Regions from separate parts of the Homo sapiens genome. Here region 2 is linked to region 1. The links are contacts of gene promoters, found by promoter capture Hi-C in blood cells and fetal thymus (Javierre and others, 2016). All regions are on one chromosome and are shown on one strand. The core of a region is centred on a gene start or on the middle of the fragment in contact, and the rest is flanking DNA. Distances in the headings are between cores, read along the strand shown. Region 1 overlaps LOC105372462 (a long non-coding RNA gene). Region 2 holds the start of SYT5 (synaptotagmin 5).

What was found. Contacts are between HindIII fragments. The CHiCAGO score rates a contact against its expected background, and 5 or more counts as called.
Region 2: the fragment with the promoter of SYT5 here is called in contact with a fragment that was not itself captured in region 1 in 8 of 17 cell types (erythroblasts, M2 macrophages, M0 macrophages and 5 more); the score reaches 7.8 in erythroblasts.

What each region holds. Positions count from the first base shown.
Region 1 is chr19:55,420,974-55,424,798 of GRCh38, forward strand. The region is part of intron 2 of LOC105372462 (a long non-coding RNA gene); the gene reads left to right. Among named protein-coding and RNA genes, the nearest start is that of UBE2S, 15 kb to the left of the region's middle. The HindIII fragment of the contact is 3,688 bases long and covers 292-3,825 here.
Region 2 is chr19:55,178,370-55,182,194 of GRCh38, forward strand. It overlaps SYT5 (synaptotagmin 5), which reads right to left and starts at 1,920. Exons shown (of 9, transcript NM_003180.3): 1 at 1,748-1,920; 2 at 594-717. The coding sequence starts at 672. It overlaps PTPRH (protein tyrosine phosphatase receptor type H), which reads right to left. Exons shown (of 20, transcript NM_002842.5): 19 at 3,647-3,782; 20 at 2,878-3,534. The coding sequence ends at 3,385. RefSeq lists an enhancer at 1,386-1,465 and silencers at 1,453-1,865, 1,746-1,935. The HindIII fragment of the contact is 13,685 bases long and covers 1-3,825 here.

The DNA.
Region 1 (3,825 bases), core at 886-3,385:
AGGCCAAAGCAGCATGTGAAAGTTTGAGGAGAAAAAAGATAACTACATAGCATCAGGCTAAGTGTGGTGGCTCATGCCTGTAATCCAAGCACTTTGGGTAGTTGATACCTTGATCTTGGACTTCCAGCCTCCAGAACTGTGAAGAAATAGACTTCTGTTGTTGGCCAGGTGCAGTGGCTCCCACCTGTAATCCCAGCACTTTGGGAGGCTGAGGCAGGAGGATGGCTTGAGCCCAGGAGTTTAAGACCAGCCTGGGCAACACAATGAGACCCCCATCTCTATTAAAAAAAAAGCTTAAAAATTAGCCAGGCATGTTGGTGTGCACCTGTAATCCCAGCTATTCAGGAGGCTGAGGTGAGAGGATCCCTTGTGCTCAGAAGGCCAAGGCTGCAGTGAGTCTCGTTGGTGCCACTGCACTCCAGCCTTGGTGGAGTGCACTCAGAGCATATGAGCTCTGAGCACATGAACTTCAGGAAGCATGAGAGCATGGGCTTCCTTCAGCCAAAGCGCTGAGACTCTGGCATCCCTTCTGTGGTTTTCCTGTCTCACACATGTAACCCAGATCTAATCATGAGGAAACATCAGATGCGCCTAAATGCAAGGCATATTCTATAAAATGGCCTACCTGGATTCTTTAAAAAATCAGCATTAAAAAAGGCAAAGACTGGGCTGGGCGTGGTGGCTGCCACCTGTAATCCCAGCACTTTGGGAGGCTGAGGCAGGAGGATCACTTGAGCCCAGGAGTTCTAGCCTGGGCAACATAGTGAGACCCCTTCTCTTAAAAAAAACATCTCCTTAATCTCTGCGTGAATTGTGTGCAATAATAAAAAATAAAAATAGAAAAGAAAGACAAAGACTGAGTAACTGTTTCAGAGTGAAGCCACCTCAGCCGGGCGCAGTGGCTCATGCCTGTAATCCCAGCACTTTGGGAGGCCGAGGCGGGCGGATCACAAGGTCAGGAGATCGAGACCATCCTGGCTAACATGGGGAAACCCCGTCTCTACTGAAAATAGAAAAAAATCAGCCAGGCTTGGTGGCGGGCACGTGTAGTCCCAGCTACTTGGAAGGCTGAGGCAGGAGAATGGCGTGAACCCAGGAGGCGGAGCTTGCAGTGAGCTGAGATCGCACCACTGCACTCCAGCCTGGGCAACAGAGCGAGACTCTGTCTCAAAAAAAAAAAAAAAAAAAAGAAGCCACCTCAAGAAGCACAATAGCTGCATGCAACACCCAATCCTGGAGTGTCACAAACTGAAAGCTGCTCTGAAAGACAGTAGCAGGACGCTTGATGCAATTCAAACATGGACTTGGTCAATGCTAAATTCTTGAGTGTGATAATTATGCTGTGGATGTGTAAGAGAGTGGCCTTGTTCTTCAGAATGGCCTCTAGGGGTAAAGGGATGTGATAGGTGCAACTTACTCCCAAATATCTCCAAAAAAAAAAAACACGATTTTTTTCTTTTTTTTAGAAGGTGTCTCGCTCTGTAACCCAGGCTGGAGTGCAATGGCACGATCTCGGCTCACTGCAACTTCCGCCTCCCAGGTTCAAGCGATTCTCCCGCCTCAGCCTCCTGAGTAGCTGGGATTACAGGCACCCACCACCACGCCTGGCTAATTTTTGTATTTTTAGTAGAGACGGGGTTTCACCATGTTAACCGGGATGGTCTTGATCTCCTGACCTCGTGATCTGCCCGCCTCGGCCTCCCAAAATGCTGGGATTACAGGGGTGAGCCACTGCACCTGGCTTTTTTTTTTCTTTCTTTTTTTTGATGGAGTTTTGCTCTTGTTGCCCAGGCTGTGGTGCAATGGCACGATCTTGGCTCACTGCAACCTCTGCCTCCTGGGTTCAAGCAAGTCTCCTGCCTCAGCCTACCGAGTAGCTGGGATTACAGGCGCCTGCCACCACGCCCAGCTAATTTTTTGTATTTTTAGTGGAGACGGGGTTTCATTATGTTGGCCAGGCTGGTCTCAAACTCCTGACCTTAGGTGATCCACCTGCCTCAGCCTCCCAAAGTGCTGGGATTACAGACATGAGCCACCATGTCCGGCATTTTTTTTTTTTTTTTTTTTATGAGACAGGTTCTGGCTTTGTGGCCCAGGCTGGAGTGCAGTGGTGTGATCTTGGCTGACTGCAACCTCTACCTCCTGGGCTCAAGCGATCCTCCCGCCTCAGCCTCCTGAGTAGCTGGAACTACAGGTGCATGCCAGCATGCCCAGCTAATTTTTTGTGTGCATATATATATATATATATTTTGTTGTTGTTGTTGTTGTTTTGTTGTTGTTGTTGTTGTTTTGGTAGAGATGAGGTTTCACCATGTTGCCCAGGCTGATGTCAAACTCCTGAGCTTAAGCAATCCACCCATCTCGGCCTCTCAAAGTGTTGGGATTACAGGTATGAGCCACCGTGCCCAGCCGAGATGAATATTTATATGGAAAGAAAACCATACAATGATGTCATATAATGGTAACAAATGGTGAGTTGGTGAAAATGACACAGAAGTTCTTTGACTTATTCTTGTAACTGTTCTGTACATTTGAAATTATTTCAAAATATAAAGTCAAGAAAAGTGAAATGAAAAAGCATGCACACAACATCTGGCATAGATTTGAGACATTCACAAGCCCACCCTTCAAATGCGGGTTAAGAATAGCTGCTGAGAGGCTGCATTTATTGGCACAGTCGGGTTGCCAGTTGAGCGAGTGTTAGGTGACAAAGGCGAACACTGAAGGCAGAATGCTCATGTCAGATCTTATCCTTGACTTGCCCGCCCTGCACACAGTGGGTGTGGAGCAGATTGCTCTTCTCTTGTTGAACACAAATGAATCCGTTGGCTGGCATGTGGCATCCATGAGGAATGAAAATACATACACTGAAGCACTGGAGTTCCGATTCAGAGTGGGAAGCTAATCACCCTCTGAGGGAGAGGAATGAGACTCCAGTCGCCCATCTCTCTCACGTGTCTTGGCATATGCTTAGTGAGGGGAATGGCAGGCAAAGTCTGCACCATTTGCATTTAAATCTACGCTGTGGGAGGCTGAGGTGGGAGGATCGCTCGAGGTCAGGAGTTCAAGACTAGCCTGGTCAGCATAGCCAGATTCCCATCTCTACATTTATATTTTTTTAAATTCTTTTTTCTTTCTTTTCTGTTAATTAATTAATTAATTAATTTATTTATTTATTAGGCAGAGTCTCACTCTGCCAGCCAGGCTGGAGTGCAGTGGCACGATCTTGGCGATCTCAGCGATCTTGGCTCACTGCAACCTCCTCCTCCTGAGTTCAAGCGATTCTCCTGCTGCAGAATTTAAAAATTCTATTAAAAAAAAAAAGTAGGGCCAGGCATGGTGGCTCATGCCTGTAATCCCAGCACTTTGGGAGGCCGAGGTGGGCAGATTATCTGAGGTCAGGAGTTCGAGACCAGCCTGGCCAATGTGGCGAAACCCCGTCTCTAGTAAAAATACAAAAATTAGCTGGGGGCCTGGTGGTGGGCACCTGTAATCCCAGCTAGTCAGGAGGCTGAGGATCACTTGGGGAATCAAGGCTGCAGTGAGCTGAGATTGCACCACTGCACTCCAGCCTCTGCAATAGAGCAACACCCTGTCTAAAAAACAAAACAAAACAGTAGAGAGTACACTTGCCGATACAAAAATCCAGAAGTGCAAAAGGGCATTTAGAAGTAAAAAGCCCCAGCCATCCAGTTCCCCTCTCCATAAGCAACCCTGTCAGCCAGAATGGGCTATGCTAGGCTGCAGTAACAAGTAGCCCCAAAGCCCTGGTTGTTAAAGCAACAAGAGTTTATTTCTCATTCGTGCTACATGTGCATCTGCGGC
Region 2 (3,825 bases), core at 670-3,169, 240 kb before region 1:
TGCAGAGGGGTGGAGACAACACACATTGAGGCCTGGGCAGCACGCAGGCTGATTCAGTCCTGATTACACGTGGAAGCTGGAATGCTGGCCTCCTTTTCCCTCCAGCCATTTTCATTGCATTTCTTCCTGTGTTTTTCTTCCACCTAATGTGGCCTATAGAGAGATTCGATGCCCCAACCCAGGCTGACACCATCTGGATTTGCTTGCTTGTTAGTTCTGCCTTTCCTTACCCGACCCCGCCCCCCATTTCTGCTCAACTCCTGATGCTTTTACAAGAAGCCCTGCTCCTCATCGGGCCTGTTTCCTTATCTGTAAAAGAAGAGCTAGGTGGACCTTCCAATTCTAAGATCCCATTCCATGCAACACCCCTTGATCCGGTTTCGATTTTTTTTTTTTTTTTTTTTTTTTTTTTTTTGCAAATCTGTTCCTTCCTTTTACCCCATTTCGTTCGCATTCCAGTCCAGGATGACGACCCGGGATCCCAGCCGGATTTTCCAGCCCGCCTGCCCGAGTACACCCGTCCGAATCCCGCCCCTCGGAATCCTGGCCAGGCTTTCTCTCTGCTCGGCCCCCCACCCCCGGGTCTTGCTCACCTGGGCCGTGGCTGATGCGACTGGAGTCGGGAGGCGTGTCGGGCGATGGAGGCCCCGGGGTTGGGGGCTCCGGGAACATGGTGGCGGGGTCCTGGAGTCTTTTCTGCAGAGACACTCAAGCACCCTAGTCCCCCATTCCCACCCCAGACGTCCTTTGAGCCCCACGCACAACAAAGAACTCCAACTCCCATGAGGCCTTTGCGCGAACAGCCGCGCAGAAACCGGACAGCCACCGCGAGTCATGCTGGGAGTTGTAGTATCAGCCTCCCCGCACTTGAGAGGGGGTGTCCAGGACCTAGTTCCATCCTAAAGGGATACCCTCTTCCTCCACGGCCCCACAGGCATCCCGCTGACTTCTGCCTCGTCCTCGCCCCTCCGCAGGGTCTGAACCGGAAGCGGGCGAAGGCAGACGTGGGAACCAGCAGACCGCGTTGCCCAGAGCAACAGCCGGGCTCCTCTCAAGCGGGGTGAGAGCAAAGCTGGTTGCCCGGGCAACGGGTTGTTGCCAGGACAACGGGCGGGGCTGACGCACAGACGCGGAGTCCCGGCGGGGCAGGCTCGCTCCGGGGCCCACCGGTGCCTGGGAACCCCCCAATAGCCCGACTGGGATCCTGAGGTCCCGCGAGGTGGGGAGCGGGCAGCCTGTGGTCCGAGCGCCCACAGCCGACTGCTCCCTCCGCACCTGGTCCTGGGAGCTGAGACGCAGGTTCCCTCTTCCCTCTCCCCAATTTTGCTGGAGGGCGGGTCGGGGGCTGCCCGGTGCCTGTGCTGAGCCCCCTCATCCTTCTTGGCCTGTTGGTCTCTCCACGCATCCGTGCTGCTCTCGTGACCGCCTCGGTCTCCACGCTGCCTCTTGACCCCACATAGGCGTCTTCCCTGTGTCTGCCTCCCCAACCCGCCTGTCTCTCTTCCCTATCGCCTGGCCTCTGTCTCCAGGGTCTCTCCCTCTCCCCTCCGCCTGCGCCCCACTCCCCGCCCTCGGCTCTTTGTCTTCTCCATACCTGTCTCGCGTCCCCAGATCCCTGTCTCTCCGCTTCAGGCTGCTGCCCTCCCTCTGGTTGTCTCCCCAGTGCCCCAGCCCCCACTCGCACACCCCTTTCCTCTAGGGATGCGGATGCGGATGGGCTGAGGGCGGGGGTCCCAGCAGCTCCTACCTGCTCGGCGGCTGGACGGGACACTCCCGGGAGACGCCGAGGCGCCAGCCCCGCCCGGACCCCACCCCCTGCACGTGGGCGGTGGCGCTGTCCCGGGTGCTGATCGCGGAGCTCTCCGGGGCGGGGGAGCCGCGGAGCGGAGCAGGATCCCGTGCGCGCGTGTGTGCCCGTGTGCGTGTGCGCGCGTGTGTGGTGTGTATTGTGTGTGCCCGTATTTGGTCTCGGGTAGGCGGAAAGCCCTGCCCCGCCCCTCCTCCCGCCTCCACCCGGGAACCTCGATGACGCCCACAGATGTTTATCCTGGTGCTTTAGCATTTTCTGCCTTCTGGTCCAGTCGTTGGCCGTCCAGACCACTCCACTCCTCCCGCCCCAACACACACGACACACACCCTGTATAGCCCAAAGAACGGCATGCCAGGATACTCAGTCCTAGGACCTAGGAGACCCCAGACCCCCATTGGAGACCCAGACTCTGCAGGGTTCAGCATCAAAGTCCCCAGCTATCAGCCCCCAGACATCGCCCTCTAAGTTCCCCTAACACCAGTCCCAGGAGGCGGCCAGTGCGGTGGCTCATACCTGTAACCTCAGCACTTTGGGAGGCCGAAGCAGGAGGAATGCTTGAGCCCAGGAGCTGGAGACCAGCCTGGGCAACATAGCAAAATCCCGTCTCTACAAAAATGAGCCAGCGTGGTGGTGCGCACTTGTGATGGCAGCTACTCTAGAGGCTGAGGTGGGAAGATCACCTGGGCCCAGGAGGTCAAGGCTGCAGTGAGCCACTGCACTCCAGTCTGGGCAACAGAGCAAGACCATGTCTCAAAAACAAAAACAAAAACAGAACAAAACAACAACAACAACAACAGAGAAGAGTAAAAGAAAAGCTCAGAAGGCAAGTCCCCAAGCACCTAGCTCCAGCGAGCCCTGTCCATACTGCCCAGACCCTGGACACAGACGTCTGGACACTGCCTTCTCTGAGAGACTCAACCACCCAAACCTACATTTTTTCATGTGCAAATGTGTGGGTCCCTCTAGTCCCCTCCTGGACGTTCGCCTCGATCCCTAGATACCAGGAACCCATCCCTACTCCCAATCCAATATTATTTCCAGACCCAGAAATCCATGGGACAACTGTCTCTGGGGAGAACAGTGATTTAATAAATTATGGGATAGAAGGAAAAATACATGTGGATGGTGGGGTGCAGAGAGACCTTGGGCACAGGGACTCCCTCCGACCCCAGATTATAGAAGACTGATTTGGTTTCTGAAGTAAAATCAAGGCAGGATCCTTCCTGCCTTTGGTCCTCAAGTAGCCAGAACTCCAGACCCAAATTCCTTCCTGCCTCAGAATCCAGGCCCCAGCCTGTTTCTTTCTGCATCCTGGAAAGACCTAGGGAATCCAAGCTATCATCCCTCTCCTCCTTCAGGGAACCAGGAATCCAGATCCCCAGCTCCCATAGGACTCATCTGAAGCCCACCAGACCACTCTCTCCTGGGGAAACCAGAGTTTGGGATACCAGCCCCCTCCTCCCACAGCACCCAGGAGTCTGGGAGCCCAGCCCTCTGCTCTTCCAGGAATCTGGGCTCAAGTGGGTGTCCAGAGCTTGAGGATGCCTGGGCTGCCGACCCAGCCCCCTCGTCACTTAGACCTCCAACTTGTGGGCCTGGATGGCGGCCACGTTCTCGTAGATGAGGTTTTCGACATCCTCATACGGGACTTCCTTCTCGGCTGGGGCCTGGGCTGACTGTTGGAGGAACCGCAGGATGCACTGATGCAGGAATACGTACTGAGCCTGGGAAGCAGGCACGGGAGTGAGAGGCGTCCCCCCAGGTCTGAGCTGCGTGGAGCCCCAGGGTCCCTCGTCCCACTGCCTCCCGTCCTGTGTTGCTGAGGGACTGCCTCACCTCAGTCTGCACCATCAACGGCCGACTCTCTCTCATCTTCCTTACAAAGCTGAAGGGCCCAAGGAGACCCTCGGACTGCAGCTGCCGGAGCAGGACGTCCAGGGCAATGAGGGTTCCTGTGCGACCCACGCCAGCACTAGGCAGAACAAGGGAAGGGTCAGACCAAGGGGCAGGAGTGT